Regions from separate parts of the Homo sapiens genome. Here region 2 is linked to region 1. Evidence: promoter capture Hi-C in 16 types of primary human blood cells and fetal thymus (Javierre and others, 2016). All regions are on one chromosome and are shown on one strand. The core of a region is centred on a gene start or on the middle of the fragment in contact, and the rest is flanking DNA. Distances in the headings are between cores, read along the strand shown. Region 1 holds the start of CLBA1 (clathrin binding box of aftiphilin containing 1). Region 2 has its middle 12 kb from the start of TMEM121.

Region 1 (4,827 bases), core at 1,248-3,747:
TAATGTCCCCCACACCCAGGCTTTAATGGGAACCCACCCTCTCCGGCCCAGTCTCCCCTAGCAGCTGGGCCAGTTCAATTTGAGCAGTGCCTGCTCCAATCGCCAACCTGGAAGCCTTATCCTCAGCTCGTGCCTTTCAGGCTGTGCCATGAAGCAGGATGGTCTGCCCAGAAGCTGGCCCAAGAAGCCAGCAGCGGCCTAGCAGCCACCTGGGCTGCCCCCACCTCCTCCTGCAACCAGGGTTGGGCACCTGATGTCAAGGTTGCCGCTGCCATTTCCTCTGCACCTTGGCTTCCCCGACGCAGCACTTCTCAGTGGGTCACAAGGGGTCACTCAGGCATATTAGTTCCCTGCTGCTGCCATAACAAAATACCCCCGACACAGTGGTTGAAAACAGCATGTGCGCATTTATCAACTCCAGTTCTAGGTGTGGGCAGGATGGTGTGCCTTCTGGAGGCTTCAGGGGAGATCTGTTTTCTGGTCCCTTCAGCCTCCAGAGGCATCTGCAGTCTCGTATCACTCCGGCTCTGCTTCCATCTTTGCGTCTCCTCTCTGACTCTGACCTTCCTGCTTCCTTCTCAGGACCTTTGTGATTACATGCCTCATCCAGGCTCCACTCCTCCTCTCAAGAGCCTTAATTTAAGCCCATCTATAAAGTGTCTTTGACCCTGTAAGGTCACATAGCCACAGGTTCCAGGGGTTAGGATGTGGACATCTCTGTGGGGCTGTTCAACTGCCACACCAGCTCTTCAACCCATATGGGTCATTTCTATCCTCCAACCACCCTGGGAGTACTGTGCTCCCCACGCTCTTCACGTGGAAGCTGAGGCCCAGACGGGGGTGGGGAATTGCAGAGAACGAGGAGAGCAGCTCCTGTCCCAGCTCTGCTTCTCACGCAGGCCTTTGGGGTGGGGCCTCAGTTTCCCCACCTGTACACAAGGACAACACTCCTCCTGCCCCCCTCCCAGCTCCCTGGGCCTCAAGGACGGCAAGGACGTGCAGTGGATGAGGGGCAGCAGTGGGAACGGACACTGCCCTTAAGCTGGCAAGACAGGCCCAGGCCTGGTCTACAAACCCAGCCAGCTCCTGATCACCATCCTTAGGGTCACTGCGGTGCTGGGGTGGCCAAGCCAAGATCCAGTCCTGGGCAGTCTGACCGAAGAGCTTCCATACTGCATGGCCCGGCTGCTCTGCCCCTCAGGAAGGAGCGGGGACAGGAGGCTGGGTCTAAGGTGCAGAGAATGATCTCATCTTGTCATTTGTAAAATTAAATTGTTCTGTAGCTTGGCTGAGAAGGACCAGGGAGGGAAGGGGTGATTCAAGCAAGGACAGAGTCCAGGCAGGGCCCCAGGCCCCAGGGTGGGAGAAATGCGAGCCTGAGGTAGATAGGGGGTGGACAGTAGGTGGCATGGTTCAGGGCTTCACCAGGGCCAGGCCCTCCCCTTACCCAGAGGAGGCAGTGATGGGGGCCAGTCTGGGAAGGCCAGGGAGGAGATGGAGTCAAGGTTGACTCCTTGAGTCTGGGGGTGAGGGCAGATGGCAGAAGGCCTGGAAGCCCGGAGGGGAGCTGCCAGAGGCCAGCCTAGCTCCTTGGTCGTCCAGTGGCTGGAGAGGGGCTGTCCGTCAGCCCTGCTCTGCCCGGGTCTGGCTGGTGACAAAGGAGGGGAGCACTCCATGCGGCCTGCGAGGGAGGGGTGGAGCCTCCCCGCAGCTCCTTCCCCCAGGAATGGGGACGAGTTAGGGGCGGGCGAGGTTTTGGGATTCAGGAGTCAGCAAGACGGACTTGGCTCTCGCCAGGGACAGGTGGGGTCCTGAGGGGCCGTCGCTCAGCTGCACCCACAGAGGGGTCGGCGGCGCGGCAAGTTAGGCTGCGGGGCGCCGGGAGAAGGGGCTGCGGGTGACGGGTGCGCTGGGACGGACCTGGGGAGCTCGTCGTGAGGAAGAAAGAACCACTCTAGGGCCAGGCCCAGTGGCTCAAGCCTGTAATCCCAGCACTTTGGGAGGCCGAGGCGGGCGGATCACGAGGTCAGGAAATCGAGACCATCCTGGCTAACACGGTGAAACCCAGTCTCTATTAAAATACAAAAAAATCAGCCGGGCGTGGTGGCGGGCGCCTGTAGTCCCAGCTACTCGGGAGGCTGAGGCAGGAGAATGGCGTGAACCCGGGAGGCGGAGCTTGCAGTGAGTCGAGATCGCGCCACTGCTCTCCAGCCTGGGCGACAGAGCGAGACTCCGTCTCAAAAAAAAAAGAAAAAAAAAAAAAAGAAAGAACCACTCGGGCGGCGAACTGAGCACGGACAGAAAGCTCGAGCGGCCCGGCGCCCAGGGCTCGGCCAGTGTGGAAGCCCGATCCCACCCGCAGCGGAGGCGGCCCGGGGCAGGGAGGGCGGGTCCGGGGCGGGTCCTGAACGGCGGGGGCCGGCGCTGGCCTCGCCCCGGATGCGTGCTGACGCCACGGCGACGGACGCCGGAAGCGGAGCTGGCGCACGCCGTTGCCAGGCAACGGGGCGGCGCAGGCAGGAGGGAACGGCTGGTTGCAGGTTTCTCTCGCCCTGGTCCCGCGCGGCCCCGCCGAGGCGGCGACCAAGGTGGGTGCGGGGACTCTCGGGAGCCGTGGGCCAGGCGCTTAGCCGGCCACCTCGGGCCCTGTCCAGGCCCAGGCGTTCCAGGGCTGCTCTGCGGGCCGCGTGCGAGAGGGACTCTCGGGAGGCCCCGGGGCGCCGCACCCACTCCTTCCCACTTGGGACTCCCGCGGGCGCCCGGCTCTCGCTCCTCTGGCCAGCGTGGGCCTCCCAGGCCCCCTCGCGGCTCTCTCCAGAGCAGGAGCCCCACCTTGGGCCGCCCCTCTCACACCTGCCGTGGGTCTGGTACGCGCCTCTGTGTCGGACTCCGCGCCCGCCTGCGTGGGAGGAAGCCAGGACTCCCGGGCGACCGGGCCATTCCTGTGGTTTGTGTCAGTTCCACAGCAGCACGTGGGCACTTTCCACCGTCAGCCACTGGGCAGCCCGGGGCACTCCTGCAGCGTCCCCTGGCCCTCTCCAGGGCAGGGGAAGGTTGGGCAGTCCTGGGCGGCCAGCACCCCGGCGTGCATGTCTCCTGAGCAGCTGCCCATCGGGCCTCTGCTGGCCTGGGGGCTCCAAGATGCAAGGCCGGCGGGAGCTGGGGGGAGAGCCTTTGAGTGACCTCCAGGAGGAAGCAGCCAGCGCTTCCCTCCGAGTGGCACCTGAGAGGCTGAGTGATGACAGTTTGGAATGGAGACGGACCTGCCCCGACCTTCTCCTGTCCGATGGGAAAGCCAGCATCTCCATGCCCCGTGAGGGCGGTTCCACCTGCACTGCCCGATGTCCTGACCCTGGGGAACACAGCAGCACTTGGGGGGAGTTTGAAGGCTTTCGGGAATCTTCAGCCAAGTCTGGACAATTCTCACAGTCCCTTGAACTCCTCGAGGGACCCACAGAACCCCAGCCACCGAGAACCACTTCTGCCCCAAAAGAGTGCAGTTCTCACCAACCATGCCAGGGTGGACCTTGGGTGACAGGAACTTCTGCCGTCCCACCTTCTGAGGTATTTCTGCTGTGCTGTGGTCACCATGTTGAGTGGGACGTGTACACACCAAGAGGCCTACAGCCCTCGAATGCTGTGGCGTGCTGGCCAGGGAGGGGGCTGACAGCCCCAGAGCGTCTGCTTCTCTCCTGGCCTTCGTCCCTGGCCATGTGGTTGGCAGTCCCATCCTGAGGCCAGGGAAGCAATGAGTTGGCAGAGGAGGCTGCAGAAATGGGTCACACGAAGGCCAGGTGGGGGCCACCTGAGCTGGGTCGCTCTTTCTGACCATTCCTCCCCCAGCCTGTCCATTCCCCATTGGTGGGGGCTGCACTGGCCCCAGCTCAGGGCATTTGAGGAGGAGCTTTTTGTCTGAATTCTGAATCTGCTGAGTTCAAAAGTCTCAGAGATTCTAAAATCACATGATCACATTTCAACTTGCTTGTAATGAATTGGGTGACGCGGGATCCAACCTGTCCGGGAGCTTGTAATGAATTGGGTGATGCCCATTCCGACCTGTCCGGGAGCCAGGGTCCCAGCCTTCAGGCCCCTGCCCCCTGCTCTCTTTCAGAGCAGACTGTGGGTGTTTACCGTTTGGTGACACTTCCGCTCCTTCTCTTTTCCTGTCTTCTTCCTTCCATTGTTCCTCTTTCTCTGCCACTTCTTCCCAAATGGTTCATCCCAAGCACCATCATGAGAGATCAGAAATAAAACCAGTGAGGAAGGAAATAAAGATATTGTAGTTCTCAGGGCTGGCCTGTTTTCTCTTCCTTTTCTTTTTTTTTTTTTTTTTTTTTTTTTTTTTTTGAGACAGCCTCACTCTGTCGCTGAGGCTGGAGTGCAGTGGCACTGTGTCGGCTCACTGCAACCTCTGTCTCCTGGGTTCAAGCAGTTCTCCTGCCTTAGCCTCCTGAGTAGCTGGGATTACAGGCATCCACCACCACGCCCGGCTAACTTTTTATATATATATATATATATGTATGTTTAGTAGAGACTGGGTTTTACCATGTTTGCCAGGCTGGTCTTGAACTCCTGACCTCAGGTGATCCGCCCGCCTCGGCCTCTCAAAGTGCTGGGATTACAGGCGTGAGCCACCATGCCCGGCCGGACTGTTTTCTGAAGCAGTTTCCCTGGAATCCTGATGAGATCCACTCTTAATAGAGTAAGGTCTGCTGTAATGCTTGTTTTGAATACAGGATTTGTTTTCCAGCGTGATTGATGTATTAGGGAACAATTAGAGCATAGTTGAAATTTCACAAGAAAGAGTAGATAAATGCAGAAAACTGC
Region 2 (4,827 bases), core at 1,311-3,810, 550 kb after region 1:
TGGCCTCCCAAAGTGCTGGGATTACAGGTGTGAGCCACCGCGCCCAGCTCCCCACCTCTTAATATTGCCATAGTGGCAATTACATTTCCATATGAATTTTGGAGGGGACACTCAAGCCATAGCCCAGGCTCGGATGATGGTGGTGTTTGTCAACGTACACATTCATTTCCCTCCTGGGTGAGTCTGGGCAGTGGTCCAGGCTGCCAGGACACAGATCCCTCCTACTCGTGGCCCCTGGGTCCTGGGTGTGGATCTTGCTCTCACAGGTCAGGCTGCACCATCAGGGCTCGGCGGCAGCACAGCCAGGGTGGAGGAGGTTGACGAGGCATGCTTTTGGGGTCTCTTTGGGATGGGGCTCAGGAGCTGGCATGAGGCACCTGCCCACACTCTGCTGCCCAGAACTTAGACATGCCAGTGCCCTGAGCTGCCAGGGAGCCAGGAATAGGGACCTGCCTTTGGGTGCCGCATGCCCAGGTGAGGAAGAAGGGGAGCCCTCCTGTGTTGCTGCACCTTGGTAACTTTACTGGACTTTTCAGTGTTTTCCTCCCAAGCGTTGCCCAAACCTGCATCCTGCCCAGCAGTGAGAGAGCCCAGGGACCACCTCCTCACTCACACCTGCTGCTGGCAAATCCTCTGGACAAAGTGCAATGCTGCAACATTTTACAAAACAGAGTCGCCCTTGATGGTCATAATGGCCGAGAAGGAAAACTCACGACGACGGAAGCCATCGACTGGCGAAATTTGATATGGATGAGCACCGGCCCGTGGTTCAGGTTTTCGTAGTAAAATTTATGTGGGGGAGAATTTTTTTTTGAGAGAAACGTGTGTTTAATGGTAAAAATTAGCATACCCCATCACCAGGAATGGCGTGGAGTAGGGACGGGCAGCAGGGACAGGCAGGTGACCCCTGTGGAGCCTCACGTGGCGAGGATGAGGAAGACGACCACCAAACAGAACAGCCCCATGGCCTCAGACACAGCAAAGCCCAGAATGGCATCGGAGATGAGCTGCTGCTTGAGAAACAGATTCCCGGCATAGCCAACAAGCTGCCAGACACCGTTCCAATGCCAGGCCCGAAGCCAGCCACACCGACAGGGGCTGCCCCAACACCAATCAACGTGGCTGCTGTGTCAACATCCCGGGAGACAGCTCTGGTCTGGAACTCCCACCTGGCCACCTGGTGTGGGGAGCGGCTGTAGGAAGGCTGTTCAGATGAATTTTCTGGGCTGTTCAAGAAGGAGACAGACACAGCCTGATTAGACCCGTGGTACAACAGCGGACCAGAGCTGGAGAGGTGAGTAATGCCCGGGGGTCTGCATTTTCTGTCTGCACTCCCACTGCCCTGCAGCACCTGCGGGCCCACAGCACTCGCCCGGCTGAAGGTGACCTAAGGTGACCGACTCACTTTTACTCATTGCTTATGAAATAAGCTGAATGTGGAGATCATCGGAAACATGTTTCAAAGTGCGTGAGCCTTGAGGAAAGCTTTCTCCCGCCCTCATGAGTATCCGCCCCAGGGGGTGCTTTCCTCGAGAGCTGGTCCGTGTTGCGTTCCCACAGTGAACACTTTCAAGGCTGCTGCGGGAAGTTGCACAGAAACGGCTGGTGGGCCTGGAGGGGATGGTGAGGCGCAGTGGGCCTGTGTACCGGATGCCAAATCCACAGCATGGGAGGCAGGGCCCACTGCAGGAGCCACACAGCAGCTGTGTGCTGCTCTCCCACCTGCAACCTGCACCTGTGGGGTGCACCTGAGTGACCCCGGCCCCCCGGGGTGTCTCTGGGATGCCTCCTAGGAGGAGAGGCTCCACGCCTGGAGGGAGACAGGTATCACACAGGTGCGTGGGGTGGAGTGTGATGCAGGGAGGTTGGGGCAGGGCCACACAGAGAGACCCCACTCAGGCAGGCCTTGGGTCAGGGTAGGCCTCACCAAGTGATATTATGTTGGGACTGGACCGTGGCCAAGGCTGGCCTGCAGGCAGGGGGCACACATATTCCTGGCAGGTGAGGCTGCCCACAAAGCTCACCTGCCTGAGAACCCTACCTGGCTGGGGCATGCGGGAGCCTCTGGACCTTCGCGCCGGCGGAGCCTGCAGTGTCGCCAGATGGCCACAAGGGGGCTCCCGAGCCCGGCTCTGGGTCCCTTTGAGGAGGGAGCCGCGGGACCCGGCTGTGAGACCGGGACCTGCCAGTGGTGCCCCGACCCCCCGACCCCACAGGACCCTGCGCGGCCAAAGGCTGAGGCTGCCCCAGCCCCAGGCTGTGCTGATGCCCCTGACCAGAACCCGAGCCCGATTCTGCTCACTGAACACTCATCTGCTCCCTTGCCTCTGCCTGCCCCGGCAGCGAGGGCCTGGCCAGTGGGTTCGTATCAACTCCCACGTCACCTCCCGTGTCATCTGTGTGTCACCTCCATGTCACCTCCTGCATCAGCTGTGTCACCTCCCACATCACCTGCATCAGCTGTGTCACCTCCCACATCCCCTGCATCAGCTCTGTGTCACCTCCCACATCACCTGCATCAGCTCTGTGTCACCTCCCGCATCACCTGCATCAGCTCTGTGTCACCTCCCGCATCACCTGCATCAGCTCTGTGTCACCTCCCGCATCACCTCCTGCGCCACCTTTGTGTCACCTCCCGGCTGACCATGGCCCAGCAGCATCTCCCTGTTGCAGCGTCCGGAGAGGCTGCGGTTGCACGGGGTGGGCTAAGGAAGGTGGGGCTGCCTCAGCCTGGGCCCTGAGTGAGCTCTGGAGTGGATCCCACCTCCCCACCAAAGCCCAAGCAGGAGACAACCCTTTGCTGCTGAAGCCACTGAGCGCTTGGGGCTGTTTGTTTCGGCCTCGTCCCCGACGGACGTGTCTCCCACAGTCCCAGGCCCTGAGTGCAGGTCCACACTGAACCTTGACGCTCATCGCAGACTGACCCTGGCTTGCCCTGGGTCACACTCGGGCTGAGGCCCCGACAGCCTGGCCCGGTCGAAGCTCCCCGGCTTATCTCACTCACTGTTGTCCAGGGCCCAGCCTCACGGTGACATCTGCCACAAGAAGGCTGGGACTCTGTCCCACTTGTGTTCAGGAACGAGAGACCCTGACTTGGTGTCTGTTATCAACACATTACAAACATCACTGGGCATTACAAAAGATTTCTGAGGGCTGGGTGCTGTGGCTCACCCCTGCAATCCCAGCACTTTGGGAGGCTGAGGTGGGAGGAGGATTGCTTGAGCCCAGGAGTTTGAGACCAGCCTGGGCAATGTAGTGAGACCTTGTCTCTAAAAAAATTTTAAAAATTAGCCAGGCATGGTTGCGCGTGCCTGTGGTCCCAGCTACTCAGGAGGCTGAGGCAGGAGGATCACCTGAGCCCAGGAGGTCAAGGCTACAGCAAGCAGAGATGGTGCCACTGCACTCCAGCCTGGACAACATAGCAAGACCCTGTCTCAAGAAAACCCACACAAAACACAAAGAAAGAAATAAAAATCCAGATTTCAAATAATTTAAACTTATTTATCCAACACAAAGCAGTTCTTCATGGCACACTTTAAACTTCGAAATTCTTTGCTCTCCCCATGCTTGGCTGATTGGGTCTGGGGCAGGCGATGGTGCTCACTGGATCCAGTTTCTGACAAATCTGGATTGAGACAAGCTTCAGAACTGGCCCAGATGATCAATTTTCATATAAGTTAAGGTGTCCTCCTTGTTCCACAGCTTTTAGTGATTTTTTTTTGTTTTTTTTTTTTGAGACGGAGTCTTGCTTTCTCGCCAGGCTGGAGTGCAGTGGTGCGATCTTGGCTCATTGCAACCTCCGCCTCCTGGGTTCAAGCGATTCTCCTGCCTCAGCCTTCTGAGTAGCCGGGAGTACAGGCACATGCCACCACACTCGGCTAATTTTTTGTATTTTTAGTAGAGATGGGGTTTCACCGTGTTAGCCAGGATGGTCTCGATCTCCTGACCTCGTGATCCGCCCGCCTCGGCCTCCTAAAGTGCTGGGATTACAGGCGTGAGCCACCACACCTGGCGCTTTTAGGTGATTTGATAATACATTTTTCTGTTAAAATTTTATGATACATAATATAGAAAGAATCTACGTAAAATGATGTCCATGCATTTATGCACACAGAGCCCACTTTGAGAGACAGAATATGAGGGCCTTTGGTCCTGCCAGGAGCAAAGAAAGTTAATAAAAAATCAAGTCTGGGCCAGGGGTGGTGGCTCATGCCTGTAATCCCAGCACTTTGGGAGGCCGAGGCAGGCGGATCACCTGAGGTCAGGGGTTCAAGACCAGCCTGGCCAACATGGTGAAACCCCATCTCTACTAAAAATATAAAAATTAGCCAGGCGTGGTGACATACGTCTGTAGTCCCAGCTACTCGGGAGTCTGAGGCAGGAGAATCACTTGAACCCAGGAGGCAGAGGTTGCAGTGAGCCGAGATCGCGCCACTGCACTCCAGCCTGGGCGACAAGAGTGAGGCTCTGTCTCAAAAACAAAACACAAACAAAAAAAATCAACTCTGGGCCAGGTGTGGTGGCTTGCGCCTATAATTCCAGCACTTTGGGAGGCTGAGGCAGGAGGATCGCTTGAGCCCAGGAGTTCCAGACCAGCCTGGGCAGCATGGCAATACCTTGTCACTACAAAAAATTTTAAAACTTAGCAGGGCATAGTGGTGTGCACCTGTAGTCCCAGGTACTTGGGAGGCTGAGGTGGGAGGATACCTTGAGCCCAGGAGGTGGAGGCTGGAATGAGCTATGATTGCACCACTGCACTCCAGTCTGGGTGACAGAGCAAGACCCTGTCTCAAAAAAATGAAAAAAATCACCCTGGAGAACCTGTAT

What was found. The method cuts DNA at HindIII sites, captures the fragments that hold promoters and counts their contacts. A CHiCAGO score of 5 or more calls a contact.
Region 2: a fragment that was not itself captured here is called in contact with the fragment with the promoter of CLBA1 in region 1 in 1 of 17 cell types (monocytes); the score reaches 6.0 in monocytes.

What each region holds. Positions count from the first base shown.
Region 1 is chr14:104,983,291-104,988,117 of GRCh38, forward strand. It overlaps CLBA1 (clathrin binding box of aftiphilin containing 1), which reads left to right and starts at 2,498. Exons shown (of 5, transcript NM_174891.4): 1 at 2,498-3,564. The coding sequence starts at 3,142. RefSeq lists a silencer at 2,287-2,756. The HindIII fragment of the contact is 10,527 bases long and covers 1-4,827 here.
Region 2 is chr14:105,535,933-105,540,759 of GRCh38, forward strand. It overlaps the pseudogene ATP5MC1P1. Among named protein-coding and RNA genes, the nearest start is that of TMEM121, 12 kb to the left of the region's middle. The HindIII fragment of the contact is 2,155 bases long and covers 1,484-3,638 here.